Regions from separate parts of the Homo sapiens genome. Here region 1 is linked to region 2. The links are contacts of gene promoters, found by promoter capture Hi-C in human tissues and cell types (Jung and others, 2019). All regions are on one chromosome and are shown on one strand. The core of a region is centred on a gene start or on the middle of the fragment in contact, and the rest is flanking DNA. Distances in the headings are between cores, read along the strand shown. Region 1 overlaps ARHGEF1 (Rho guanine nucleotide exchange factor 1). Region 2 holds the start of CNFN (cornifelin).

Evidence for each region. Contacts are between HindIII fragments. The study calls those that stand out against the background at their distance.
Region 1: a fragment that was not itself captured here is called in contact with the fragment with the promoter of CNFN in region 2 in 4 of the 25 tissues and cell types used here (bladder, dorsolateral prefrontal cortex, liver and 1 more).

What each region holds. Positions count from the first base shown.
Region 1 is chr19:41,901,104-41,908,193 of GRCh38, reverse strand. ARHGEF1 (Rho guanine nucleotide exchange factor 1) reads right to left here. Exons shown (of 29, transcript NM_004706.4): 15 at 6,161-6,307; 16 at 5,838-5,920; 17 at 5,536-5,661; 18 at 5,296-5,410; 19 at 4,787-4,887; 20 at 4,410-4,487; 21 at 4,084-4,159; 22 at 3,811-3,978; 23 at 3,158-3,245; 24 at 2,933-3,019; 25 at 2,367-2,434; 26 at 2,169-2,255; 27 at 1,574-1,737; 28 at 1,391-1,491; 1 more. The coding sequence ends at 1,408. ERFL (ETS repressor factor like) reads left to right here. Exons shown (of 6, transcript NM_001365103.2): 6 at 1-490. Among named protein-coding and RNA genes, the nearest start is that of ARHGEF1, 21 kb to the right of the region's middle. RefSeq lists enhancers at 2,011-2,615, 3,221-3,825, 3,826-4,431. The HindIII fragment of the contact is 9,702 bases long and covers 1-7,090 here.
Region 2 is chr19:42,386,591-42,393,497 of GRCh38, reverse strand. CNFN (cornifelin) reads left to right here and starts at 3,201. Exons shown (of 4, transcript NM_032488.4): 1 at 3,201-3,258; 2 at 4,459-4,572; 3 at 6,022-6,158; 4 at 6,256-6,479. The coding sequence starts at 4,461. The coding sequence ends at 6,345. RefSeq lists silencers at 5,914-6,093, 6,114-6,293. The HindIII fragment of the contact is 13,351 bases long and covers 1-6,907 here.

The sequences.
Region 1 (7,090 bases), core at 2,912-5,411, 490 kb after region 2:
GACCAGGGTGGCTGCCCGTCTGCCCTTGATGCCTGGCCCAAGGCCCAGGACCAGCCCTCAGCACCTCCCAGGTCTGGGCACATTGCTGCCCCAGTCTCCTTCCCCAGCCCCAGAGTGGGGGGGGTCTCACTTCCCCCTCCACAGAGGACAGAGGGAATGTGATGGCCTCCGGCCTCCTCCCCAGGCTCCAGTTTGAGGGGGGTCCCCGCCTGGCCCCACTCCCAAAGTGCAATATGGCGCCCAGCCTGCCCCGCCCGCCCACCCCTGTGCTATGCCCCAAGTGTTTGTGTGGCCGTGTCTCCAAACCCCCTGTGCTGGCCCCAGTCCTGACACCCCCCCCATATAGGCCCCCCTGGGGACAGGGAGCTCAGAGCAATAACCCCGCCCCCAGCCCCCACCCAGGAGGGGCCCCCCTCCCCACCAGCTCCCCATGATCCCAACAGTCACCTCCAGAGAGTTTACTACAGAAATAAAAGAACAGAGAGTGAGACTCGGGGTGCCCAGTGCTGAGCATGGGGGATCGGGGGTGGGAGCTGGAGGGCGGTGTCAGGGAGACGCCTCATACCCAGTGTGTGTACGGAGTGCCTGGGGAGTAACGGTTCAAACAAAGAAATGAATGAATGAATGAATGAACAACTGGAGGGAGGCGCAGAGGCACAGACCCAGGATGTCAACGCCAGACAGTCACAGAGAGTTCCAGACGCCATGCCAGGCCCCACCCCGCCATCACACACACAGATCTCTTCTTAGATAATATATATTAAAAAATAAACCTCCAATTCAGGGTATAAAAACAGAGCGAAGGCACTTGGGGGTGGGGGTGGAGGGGTGGCCCCCACAGGCAATACTGAGATGGCCCGGGTCACCGTGGTGCCCTCCAGAATGGAGCCCTGAGTCCCCCAAGCAGAGGGCAGGAGGGAGAGATGGCCGAGGCTCATGCGGGGCCAGTAACCCCAGCTGGGCCCCTCCCAGGCGTGGCCCACAGCTCCCTCTCCTCAGGCCCTCGGGGTGTGAGATGCTGCGGCAGCTGTGTGGGTGGGGGTGGTCCCTCACGTCCTCTCCCCCATTCCTCTCCTTCTTGCAAAAGGCCTGGGGGATGTAGGAGAAGAGGGGAGACGGGGAGAGATGGAGAGAGAGACAGGGAGAGACAGACACAGAGACAAGACAGGGAGAGCAGAGAGAGAAGGGGAGGTGGGGAGAGGCAGGCGGGCACAGAGACAGAGAAACAGATTATCAGAAACAGAGACACAGAGATGAGAAACACGAGGTGGAGTGGGGAGATTCAGAAAAGACAAAGAGGGAGATGGACAGAAGGGGCTGTAGGGATGCGAGCTCTGGAGGGGGACCCTCCTTTCAGGACAGCGCCCTGGCCCCCAGGTGCCCCACTCACCTTCCTGGGCGGGAACCTCAAGTGCAGCCAGGCTGGGGGACAGAGTTCCCCCCAAGCTGAGACAGGAGGGGTCTCAGGCGGCAAAATTCCTCCTCCAACTCCTGGTGGGGTGGGGGTCATGGATGAGGGGGGCCCCTTCCTTCCCCAGCCCACTCAGGGCACCCCTGGCCCGTCCCGCCCCACCTCCAGCTGCTTCATGGTCTCCTCCAAGCTGAGCAGGTTCTCCTGGATTTCCTGGGTCCGTGCTGGGCTCAGGGGGCCGCCCCCTGGGACCCCATCCCCATCTCGAGGAGGCCCCGCCCCATTGTCTTCCTCCGCCGGAAACAGAAGCTGCTTCAGGGACAGCACTGGCCAGGGGCAAGGAGGGGTGGAGTCAGGAGACCAGGGGGCTGGGCTGGGATCTGGGATGGGGGATTCCAAAGGGGATGTGTAGGGGCTGGAGGTGAAGGTGGGTGCCAGGCAAGGCTGAGCAGATGGGGTTCGGGGATCCAAAGGGAGGTGAAGAAGTGAGGCTGGGTTTAGGGTTGGGACAGGGCAGGAAGGTACTGAAGACAGAGATGTGTTCAGGAAGAGGCTAAATATAGAATCAAGCAAGGGATGGTGGCTGCAGAAGAGGGACGTGGGCACCCAGGACAGTGGTGCAGGCTGGGTGGGTTTGGAGCATTTGTTTTCTGGCAGCTGGGCGTAAGGAAATTTTTGACGTGGAGAGCCTTGTTCTAGTTGGAACAGAGGCACTGTTTGGGCTGGTGGCCACCCTGGAGGGGCAGAGCTGGGCTACCTTTCCGAAGGGCCGTGGCAGCGAGCTGGCCCTCGGGGCCTGGTCTGCAGAAGGGCAGGAGGTCACTGAGGATTCTCTCGGTCCGGGCTGGATTGGGGAACAGAGAGGGAGCTCAGATCCTGCCGGGCCTCCTGTGGATGCCTCTCTTCACCCGGCAGCCCCAACCTGGCCCCTCACCCAGCATCCCTCTGGTCTCACCATCAGCTGGAGACGTCTCTCGGCCACCATTGCCGTTCTCAGAGCTGCTGAGGAGGGGTTCTCGGGTGCTGAGGGGAGGAAGTGCTGGGTGACCCCACACCCCTGGCCCTGGGGGGCCGCAGGGGCAGGGAGACAGAGAGCTGGAGGTGGGGAGGCAGGGAGGTCCGGAGACAGAGACAGAGGTCGAGGCCGGGAGACAGGGAGACAGAGAGGCCCAGACAATGGAAGACACAGAGGCCTGGAGACAGGAGACAGACGGGGCAGTGGTGGGGTCGGCACATGCGCACACACACACACATGCATGCACATGCTGTCACACGCATGCACACATATGCATACACACACACCATACACGCACACACATGCACACGCACACATGCATGCATACACACACTATATATGCACGCACAGTCACATACTTGCGTACAGACACACATGTATGCACACACATGCATTCACACATGTGCATGCTCACACAGAGACGGTTCTGGAGTTGTGGAGGGAAGCCTGCCCCGCCTTCCGGCCCCACTCCCTGAACCTCCAGCTCTCTCCATGGCCCCCCTCACCTGCTCGGGCTGGGCCGGGGCTTAGGGCGAGAGGCAGGGGCAGGGACTTTCAGGGATCCGGCAGTCTCAGTGATGAGAGCACACCAGCTGGGGAGAAAGGCCAAATCCCTGGGCAGTCAGAGCCCCCAGACCCTATGCCAGGGCCTCCCCACAGCCCTCCTGTCCCTGGGAACCCAGAAACCTGGGCGTCCTCCACCCACACTCAGAACTCAGACCCCCCCTCACTTTTTCCGCTCCGACACAGTCTGTGCCACCAGCTCGTATATCTGGGCCTCCTGGTCCCAGGTAAAAAGGACGTAGAAGGCTTTGTGATCTGCAGGGAGAGGGGGAGATGGGGCTCAGAGCCCAGGTCCCCCCAGTGCCTGCCCCTCCCTAAGCACAAGCTGGAGAAGTCACCCACAGTGGTGGCGCTCTCAGGGCTCCCATGGCTCAACTCACCACTCACTGTCTGCTAATATCCAGGGCCCGATGTGTCCTCCTGAGCCCCACCTCTCACACCTCCTTATGGAATCGGGCATGTACCCTGGCTTACCTAACGAAACCCCTCCAGCCACTCCCACCCTCCAGCCGCTTCCAGTGTTTGTGGCCCTGGTGCAACTTCCTAGTAGTATGTTTACAAATCCCTCCTCACTGGACTCCTGGCCTTTCTTCTCCTTGTTTACACAAGACACGCCTCTGTGCAAACACCTGCAGCAGTTCCTACCTCACTTATAAACCCTCTAGGCCTGGCCCCGCCCTGCCCACCTCCACCTACTTCTCAACCTCTTTGCTAGAATGCTGGCTCCCTGGCTCTCTAGAGGGTTCTGCTCCCCACTCCACAGGCAGCTCTGCCCAAAAAAGACACCCTCTGCCCTGGGCCATGCAGTGGCTGCACTCACCGGTGGCCACCTCGCGGGTCATGGCGGAGGTGAGCCGCAGCACGGGCCGCAGCATGGTCTTGCCATCGGGCGTGGGCGTCAGTGTCCGGCTATGGGACTTGAGCAGCAGCCGCTCGTCCTGGCGCTGGAGCAGCAGCAGCAGGTCGTCCAGCAGCAGCACATGCACCTCTACGGGGCGAGCAGTGCTCACACGGCGTGCCCCCGCGCGACCCCCTCCCCGCCCTTGGCTCACTGCCCCAACACCCTGCACTAGGCAGCTGCTCTGGCACTCACCCACTGCCTTGTCCTTAGTCACCCGCCACGTCAGTGGGCCCTCGTGGACCAATTTCTTCTTGGTGATGTCCAGGTTCTGGGGCAGGAGGGGGTGATGGTTTGTGCAGGTTGGCAGGGGGTGATTGGGGTTGGTGGGGAGGGGAAGGGCAGGGCAGTGGCCGGGGATGACCACAGGCTGGGGATCATGGGATTGGCATGAGGTGGGGGACAGAGCTCTCGCTTCCTGGGTGTATTATGGGATGGGCAGGACAGGCTGGGGGCTGTATCACAGAATCCCCTGGGCCAAGGAGTAGGGGGGCGGGGGAGGCAGGAGGGTATGGTCACACCTTGAACTCGCTCAGCATAGGGTCGCTGCTCTGCCGAAGGTGGGACAAGTCCAGGCGCCGCTGATAGTCCTTGAGCCTCTGGGGCAGAGACGGGAGCATTATGGGGACAAGCTAAGTGCTGGGGCTGACCTGCAGTGACCCACATTGGTAAGATGAGAGCCAAGACCAACTTCTGATGCGGGCAAGCTGAGGGTTGGGCCTGACCTCCAATGACCCTGAGAGGGAGATGCTGAGGGCCAAGCCAACCCCTGGACACAGTGACCCTTGAGGGAGACAAGCCAAGGGGTGGGGTGTGACTTCTGGACAGGCTGAGGTAGGGTCCACCCCCTGCTCTCACACCATCCACTGTCCCGGGTGTGGGGCCAGCCCAGGCTCACCAGCAGGTCCTCCATGTCACGCACGGCTTGGTTGACGTGGTGTAGAATTTCCCGGCAGCACTCGGCTGCCAGCTCCACTTTCTCCCGTTCTGTGGGCTCTTCTGCAGGCAAGGGAGAGAGCAGCTCTGGTGAACCCCTGCCCTGGAGGCTCCAGATTGGGCAGCCAAGGTTAGACAAAGGACAGCTGGCCGGGCATGGTGGCTCACGCCTGTAATCCAAGCACTTTGGGAGGCTGAGGCGGGAGGATAGCTTGAGACCAGGAGTTCAAAGCCAGCCTGGGCAACATGGCGAGACCCCGTCTCTAAAAAAAAAAACTAAAAAAATTAGCTGGGCATGGTGGTGTGCCCTTGGGGTCCCAGCTACTTGGGGAGCTGAGGTGGGAGGATGGTAGATCCTGGGAGGTTGAGGCTGCAGTGAGCTGTGATGGTATCACTGATGAAAATGAGTGAGAAAAAAAATGTAAAAAAAAAAGAGGAGAGCCGAGGCCCAGAGATCCAGGCCCGCGGTACCTGTGTTCTGCCCGATGCTCTGCAGGAGCAGGGGGTACTTGGTCAGCCGCTGCATCTCCGTGGGGATCATGTCCTTCAGCTGCAGGCGGCGGCACCGCGGGCGGCTCTCAGCTTCCTGCGGGAAACATGCTGGTGTTGCGATGGCCCAGGCTTTGGGCTCACCCCAGGGCGCAGGCACCTAGGAGTCTGGGTCTCCAGGCCCCTCCTCCCTGGGAAGCTGGAGTCCAGACCCCACCTCACCTGCACGAAGGCACAGAACCGAGGGTCCTTGCGTTGCTTGGCTTTGAGCTGCTCTAAGGCAAATGACTGGCGGCTGCAGAAGCGGGAGGAGATTTTCTGGAACCAGGAGCCCTCAGCACCATCAAACTACAGCGAGATTCAGGCCAGGCAGGTGTCTCAGTGGGGATGGGCAAGAACAGGGACTAAAGTACGACAGGCTGGAAGCCCAGACCCTGGGACTGGAGTAGGGTGGGCTCAGGACCCGTCCCGGGCCTGAATTCCATGTGTCTAGCTGGGAGGAGCGGGAGGGCTGGGCATCTCACCCGGGCCAGCAGCACGTCTCCGATCTCCTCGATGAGGTAGCCACTCTCCTGCCTCCGCTTCATCAGGCGATCGAGGAACAGGGCTGTGGGGGCAGGAGGAAAGGGATGCTCCACCAGGGTCTGGAAGATGCTGTGCGGGGCCTGCTGCGGTGTGGTGGGGGTAGGGCTGCAGGTGTGTCTGTGTCTGATCCTCGGGACCGGATGGCGTATCTGCCCCCACCCCATGTGAACCCTGGGGTTCCCGAGCAGGTTGAACCCAGGGCTAGAGCAGAGCTGCCCGTGGGGCAGTGGGGTACACAGAGGGACCCTGGCTCTGCACTCACAATGCACCTCGATGAGCTCGTCCAGGCTGGGGAAGATGTTCTGCAGCTCCTCCAAGGGGAAGAACAGGCATTCTGCCATGGGCTGGAAGAAGAGGTCGTGCAGCACCCGCAGCATGCGCACGTGGGCCGCCTCTGTCACCAGCAGCTCTGCAGGGCCACCAAAGCAGGAAGCATGTTGGGGAGGGTGCAGACTAGGGGGCATGACCTCATGGGCAGGCTAGAGGAATGAGGCAGAGCAGGGAGGAAAGCTTCCTAGAAGTTGGTGGGAAAAAACTCTCTCTGGCTAGCCATGGTGGTTCACACTTGTAATCCCAGCACTTTGGGAGGCCAAGGCAAGAGGATTGCTTGAACCCAGGAGTCCAAGATCAGCCTGGGCAACATGGTGAAACCCTGTTTCTACCAAAAATTTAAAAAAGAAAAAAAATTAGCCCAGGCATGTTGGTGTGTGCCTGTAGTCCCAGCTACTTGGGAGGCTCAAGTGGGAGGATCCCTTGAGCCCAGGAGGTTGAGGCTGCAGTGAGCTATGATGGCATTACTGCACCCCAGCTCAAGCAACAGAGCGAGACCTTGTCTCAAAACAAAATGGCTGGGCACAGTGGCTCATGCCTATAATCCCAGCATTTTGGGAGGCTGAGGCAGGTGGATCACAAGGTCAGGAGTTCAAGACCAGCCTGGCCAACATGGTGAAACCCCATCTCTACTAAAAAAATACAAAAATTAGCCAGGTGTGGGGGCGGACTCTTGTAGTCCCAGCTACTCGGGAGGCTGAGGCAGGAGAATCTCTTGAACCCGGGAGACAGAGGTTGCAGTGAGCTGAGATCACACCACTGCACTCCAGCCTGGTGACAGAACGAGACTCCGTCTCAAAAAAACAAAACAAAACAAACAAATAAAAAAAAAAACTCTCCGGGTGGAGTCATTTGCCCTCTT
Region 2 (6,907 bases), core at 1,952-4,451:
ACACGAATTTGAACCCAGGCTTTCTGGCTCCAGAGTCCATCACATAAGGCTGCCATTCAATAAATAATTGCTGCCTTAATCCAACCGGAATTACAGAATCACAGTAACTGCAAACACACCCAAACAGCAGTGCACAGTGTGTAGACTCACAGGAGGGCAATACAGACACACAAATAGAAGAGACCCTCTCATATCACACCGCAGACCACAGAAAAAGCACAGAGACACATCATGACAGTTGGGGGTTGTCATGACAATTGGTCACAACCACACACAGAGACACAATACACCCAAACACAGGGGCACACCCAGAGCTCCCCAAGTCCCTCCTGTTCTGCTCCCAGCCCCGCTGGGCTGGCCTTCAAGGAAACAGCAGGTTGAGGAAGGGAAGGGGGACCACGCCACTTGTCCGCTCTGCCGGACCGGTTCCACCAGGGCCACAGATGGCACAACCCACCTTGTGAAACCCAAAGTGATGACTGACCCACATTGGGCAACTGGACTGAGACCTGGTCTGGATGCCTGGGTTCTGGGGAGAAAGGGGCTGGGAGCCTGGACTCCTGTATTTCCAAAGGAGGAGGGGGTTGGGTGCCCCATTCCTTCTAAGGGGGAGGAGGAGGATTAGGACCTGGACTCGCAGATCCTAAGGAGGGAAGGCTGGGGCCTGGACTCCTAGGTTCTGGGAAAAGAGGGGGCTGGAGTCCTGAACTCCTCTGTCTTTGATGGTAGGGTTCCAGATTTAGCAAATAAAACTATAGGAAGCCCAATTTAATTTGAATTTTAGATAAATAACAAATACTTTTTTAGTATAAATATGTCCCAAATACTGCATGAAACATGCTAAAAAACCTGTTTGTTGCTTATCTGAATTTCAGATTTTACAGGACAGCCTGTATTTTATGTGGCAACCCTGTTTGAGGAGGATGTAGGCCAATGCCTGGTGACTGGGCCACCATCACTCCTCAGCCCCCCAGGAGCTCCTCCTCCTGCTCACGGCCCTCCTCACCCCCAAGCAGGCCACCTCACAGCTTCCCCAGTCTCTATTTCCTCACCTGCATGAATTGCTAGATCTAATTGGGGCCCCCAGGCTGTGTCAGGAGTGAGAGAGGAAACTTGAGGACAACTCAGAGTGTCATGCTGGGAGCCCTGGGGTCCTCGGAGATGACTGACCTTGAGTCACCTGCACCCTTAGTCTGGACAGCAGGGGGGATGGGGCCCTGTAGCTGCCTCCACAGGGCAGGTCTGGAGATGAACAGAGATGGGAAGCGAGATTCAGAAGAGATTTTGACATAGGAGACAGAGACCCCGGGATAAGGGCACAGAGACACAGAGCCTGGAAGGAGAGGGACCCAGAGATGGAGAGACAGAGATTTGGAAAGAGATTTGCAGAGATGAGGAAAGAAAGACAGATTCACAGCTGGAAAGGTGAAGATGCAGGGTGAGAGACGAAGATTCAGAGATGAGGAGACAGGGATGTTAGGACACAAGTGAGGAGATGTCCCCCAGACATCCAGGCTCTAGGACCAATGACGGACGTGCACCGGCAAGACAGTGAGCGCTGCCGGGAGTTCTGGGGACAGGAAGACCCAACCATCTGGGTGGTGCTGGGAGACCAAGGCTTGGGTCCTAATGTGTTGGAGGGAGGGAGGGAGGGAGGGGACACCTGGGATCCCAGCTAGCAGGGTGATCCACCTGCCATCACCCCATACCCGGCGGGGTGATGACACCACCTTCTCTGCAGGTGACACCCCAGTTTTCTAGTGCCTCCTACATTTTTGGGGTGACACCCGTGCTGAGAACCCCACCCAGCTCTAATGCTGCTTCCCTCACTGAGTCACCTCCCAACCCCGTCAGGCCTGTTGGGGGGAAACTTTGGCGATTCAGGCACCCAGACCCCCAGCTCCTTCCCTGCTCAGGAGCCCAGCAGTGTGGAATCCCAGGACCCCTACCCTACTGAGGGATGTGCAGCCTGGCCTCATGAGACGCAGGAGTCCAGGGCCCCAGCCCCTCCTCCCTCAGACCCAGGGGTCCAAGCCCCCACTCCTTTGCTCCATTAGGACCCAGGAGTCCCAGGTGACGTCCACGTCCTTCAGGAACTGCGGCTTTTCAGTTCCCAGCCTCCTCCCTTCCCAATTTGGAGCTGGGGTGAGGTGTGTTTATTTACTTTGGTTCCAACATGAGTCATTCCCCAAAACACACTGCCCCCCATGTGTCTCCTGGCTTGAATGGGGAGGACACTGTCCCCCTCTCCCAGGAAAGTGGGGATATCACTGAGAGAGATGAGCGAGACCCTGAAAGGGGAGTCCCACACAGCACTCTCTCCCACTCCACCCGGCCTTTTTCTCTCCCCACCCATCACCTCTCCCCATTTCCCTGCCCTCTAAGCCTGTTCAGTGATCCCCCCACCTGCCTCTCCACTTTTCCATCTCCGTCTCTCTTCTGTCTCCCATCTCCCCTTTTCTTTCCTTTTTTTTTTTTAAGACAGGGTCTTGCTCTGTCACTGAGGCCGGAGTGTAGTGGCGGGAACACGGCTCACTGCAGCCTCAAACTTCTGGACTCAAGCGATCCTCCTGCCTCAGCCTCTCAAGTAGCTGGGACTACAGGCACATGCCACCATGCCCGGCTAATTCTATTTGTATTTTTTGTAGAGATGGGGTATCCCTATGTTGCCCAGGCTGGTCTTCAACTCCTGGGCTCAAGCGATCCTCTCACCTCAGGCGATTACAGGGTTGGGATTACAGGCGAGAGCCACCATGCCTGGCCCATCTCCCCTCTTCTTGTTATTTCTTTTCACATTTTTGTGCCCCTCTGTTTCTTGGCACCTCTCCATCTCTCTACATCTTCCTGCGTCTCTCCATCTCTCTGAATCTCCTCTCTCTCCTTTCTGTCTAGAGGGACTTCCCTGCCTGCCTTTCTGACACTGTGTTTCTGTCTCTCCCTCTCTTTTGGTCTCTGCGCATTGACCCGGCTGTGGCCCCCCGCCCCCGCCAAACCTCCCACCCCCCGCCACCTTCTTTTCCCTGGGTCCTGGGAGCTGAGGCAGGAGGAGAAGTGGGGGGATGGGAGTGGAGAGGGAGGGCGGGAAATCCCAGTGTGGGGAGAGGGTCGATCAGACCGGCTTGGCTCCCTGGGCACCTCTGTCAGAGCCCCGCCCAGGGCTGCGTGGCCGCCCATATAAGTGGCTCTGGGCTGAGACGGAGAAGTCAGTGCCCGTGTCTCCACACGTCTGCCTCCATCACTGCCATCGCGATCCTGCAGGTAGGAACATCCCCTCCGCAGCCCTCTTCTTTGAGGTTGGGCGCCTCTGCTCTGTTCTCCCTCCTCCTCATCCCACTCATATCACTCTGTCTCCTTTCATATCGCTGATTGTCGGTCTCTCGGGACATCTCTGTCCTTCCCAATGCCCCCAAATCTGTCCTTCTTAACTGGGGTGTGCTGAGCTGAATTTAGAAGTCTTGGGGCCCAGCATCACCTCTATGAACCCCCTTGGCCTGGGCCGTCAGACGTGGGGCGTTCCTCCTCATGTCTCTGAGCCTCAGTGCTCATCTGTGAGATGGGCTTGCAGAGGAGTCAAAGTGCTGGGCACATGTGGGCATTACTGGTGACATCTCTACGGGCACCTGGCTCTGATCTTTCTCCCCTTGTCTCTGACTCTGTCCATCTCCATTTCTTGTTCTCCCTCAAGCTCTATCTCGGGTATGGGGAGGGTCCTCTGCAATCTGTCGGGCAGTTGGAAAGACATGGGCGAGTTTCTCGCCCCCGCCCTATCCATTCCCTATTCCATGTCTCTCCTGGTTGACAGGCTGACTTGGCCTCTTTCTCCCCAGCTCCCCTCCCCCTGAGAGCCCAGCCCCCAGTGCCCCAGTCCCTTGCCCCCACCTCCCCAGTATCCAGCGTCCCTTGGACAGACTCTGCCACTGTTGCCACAGCCACTTCTGCCGTCCCCAACGCCACCTCCTCAGGGCCAGCAAGATGCAGTTTGAGATGCACGACAACGTGAAAGGCAAAGGTGGGACCGCTGGGTGGACCAGCAACCCTCTCAGTACTGGAACCTGGCCGCCTCCCTCCCCTGGGCACCCTTGCTTCGAAGACAGACGGCGCCTGCTTCCACCCCAGAGGCCCCAGAAATGCTGCAACCCAGAACCCAGGCCCAGACGTGGAGGAGGAGGCGGCACCGCCAGGCCCCACCCAGATGTGGTCCCCACCCTTCCTCAGATGTGCAGGAGACCCCCACCCCCAGCCTAACCAGACGTGCAGGAGCCAGCAGCAACAGGGACAGACTGGGGTTGCCGGTGCCCAGATGTAGCAGAAGGGAAGGGGGAGGCACAGTGGTGTCCCTTCAGTGGGCGGCCTGGCGGCCCCGCCCAGACTGCCCGGCACAGGGAAGGGTGGCCGAAGTGCGGGGCCCAGGAGATGCTGCGAGGCTGCCAGCTGACCCCTACCCTCCCACCTCTGCAGCTATGTCCTACCCTGTGACCAGTCAGCCCCAGTGCGCCACCACCAGCTGCTACCAGACCCAGCTCAGTGACTGGCACACAGGTCTCACGGACTGCTGCAACGACATGCCTGTCTGTGAGTGCCTGCCTGCTCCCTCTCCAGGCCTGGTGGAAGATGGGTTTGGGGGGAATCAGGAGAGGGAAGCTCACCTCCAACCTCCTCCCACCGCTTGCTAACCCCACTCCCACCTCCCTTCCCTGGACTTGGAATTCCCACTCTAACAGTCACCCTTTCCTCAGACCCCCAACACTCCTTAGGATACTACCTCATGCCTTCCCACACTCAACTTATCAGGCCCTCAACCTCCCCTTTGCATGCTCAGCTTTCCTCACTGTGACCCCCAACTCCCTCTTCAAACCCTAGCTCCTGGCCCAGTGCAGTGGCTCATGCCTGTAATCCCAACACTTTGGGAGGCCAAGGCATGACAATCCCTTGAGGCCAGGAATTCAAGATCAGCCTGGGCAACATAATGAGATCCCCATCTCTACAAAAATAAAAATAAAAAATAGGTCGGGCGCAGTGGCTCACGCCTGTAATCCCAGGACTTTGGGAGGCCATGGCAGGTGGACCACAAGGTCAGGAGTTCAAGACCAGTCTGGCCAAGATGGTGAAACCCCGTCTCTACTAAAAATACAAAAAAAAAAACCGGGCGTGGTGGCGGGCGCCTGTAAACTCAGCTACTCGGGAGGCTGAGAAAGAGAATTGATTGAACCCGGGAGACAGAGGTTGCAGTGAGCCGAGATCACGCCACTGCACTCCAGTCTGGGCAACAGAGCGAGATTCCGTCTCAAAAATAAAAATAAAAAATAAAATTAGCCCGAGGTGGTGGCACACACCAGTAGTCCCAGCTACTCGGGAGGCCGAGGCGGGAGGATTGCTTGAGCCCAGGAGGTCGAGGCTACAGTGAGACATGTGATCACACCACTGCACTCCAGCCTGGATGACAGACCGAGACTTTAATTTCTTTTTCTTTTTTTTTCTTTCTTTCGTTTTTTTTTTTGTTTTGTTTTTTGTTTTTTTTGAGACGGAGTATTGCTCTGTCGCCCAGGCTGGAATGCAATGGCACAGTCTATGCTCACTGCAACCTCCGCTTCCCGGGTTCAAGCGATTCTCCTGCCTCAGCCTCCCTAGTAGCTGAGATTACAGGCACACACCACCACGCCCGGCTAATTTTTGTATTTTTAGTAGAGACGGGGTTTCACTATGTTGGGTAGGCTGGTCTCAAACCCCTGACCTCGTGATCCTCCCGCCTAGGCCTCCCAAAGTGCTGGGATTACAGGCGTAAGCCACTGCACCCAGCCTCCAATTTCTAAAAAAAAAAAAAAAGAAGAAAAAAAAAAAAAGAAAAACCCTGCCTTCCAATCGCTAAGCCATCCTCTCCTCGGACCTCTAATTCCCTCTGGGACCTCTCCTTGGCTGGGACCCTCAATGCCCCTCCGCGGCGAATCAACCGCGCCCCCCCCGGGGCGGAGCCGTCGGGAGGCCCCGGCTGGCCCCGCCCCTGAGCGCCTGCGCCCCGCCCAGGTCTGTGCGGCACTTTTGCTCCTCTGTGCCTTGCCTGCCGCATCTCCGACGACTTTGGCGAGTGCTGCTGCGCGCCCTACCTGCCCGGAGGCCTGCACTCCATCCGCACCGGCATGCGGGAGCGCTACCACATCCAGGTGCGCGCCGGGCTGGGGACCCGCGGGAGCAGGGAGCTGGGGACTGGCCTCCTGGGACCCACCGCGGGGCTCCTGACCGCTCTCTCCTACCCTCTAGGGCTCCGTCGGGCACGACTGGGCGGCCCTCACCTTTTGTCTGCCCTGCGCCCTCTGCCAGATGGCGCGGGAACTGAAGATCCGAGAGTAAGGAAGTTCCCTGTCTTCCCCGTCCTTTTCCACCAGTCTCGCCTCTGGCCTTCTCTGGCCACTCCTGGGAGGGACTGCCTCACCACCCCTGTCCCGCTGCCAGAAATACACCCACAATAAAAACCTGAAAACCAACTCCGCCTACATCCATTTTGTCCCAGGGTAGGAATCTGGGTGGAGAGAGAGGATTGGTGAGAGAGGTGGGGACAAGACAGATGCCTACGTGTGACCCCGCCAGGCAGTGTGTGACTTTGTCAAGTTATCCCTCCCAAACCCCAGTTGCCCTCACCCTAACAAAGTAAAACCACTAACTCTTTAGCTGCAGACTCCCTGCCTGAAGCTGCCTGCATTCTGAAAATAAGCAAAACCAGAAAGTCAGTCTTGGGAGGACGGAGGCACTGAAGTTCAAAGAAAAAACAGGAGAGCGCCCTTGCTTGCTCCATATCTATGGACTGTTGGCCTGCACACAATTCGAACAGGCGTGGGGGACTTTTGTCTCCAAAGCAGAGAACTTATAAGCTTAAGGCTCTCTGGAGCTAAAAACGAATTTTTTTTCTTTTTTT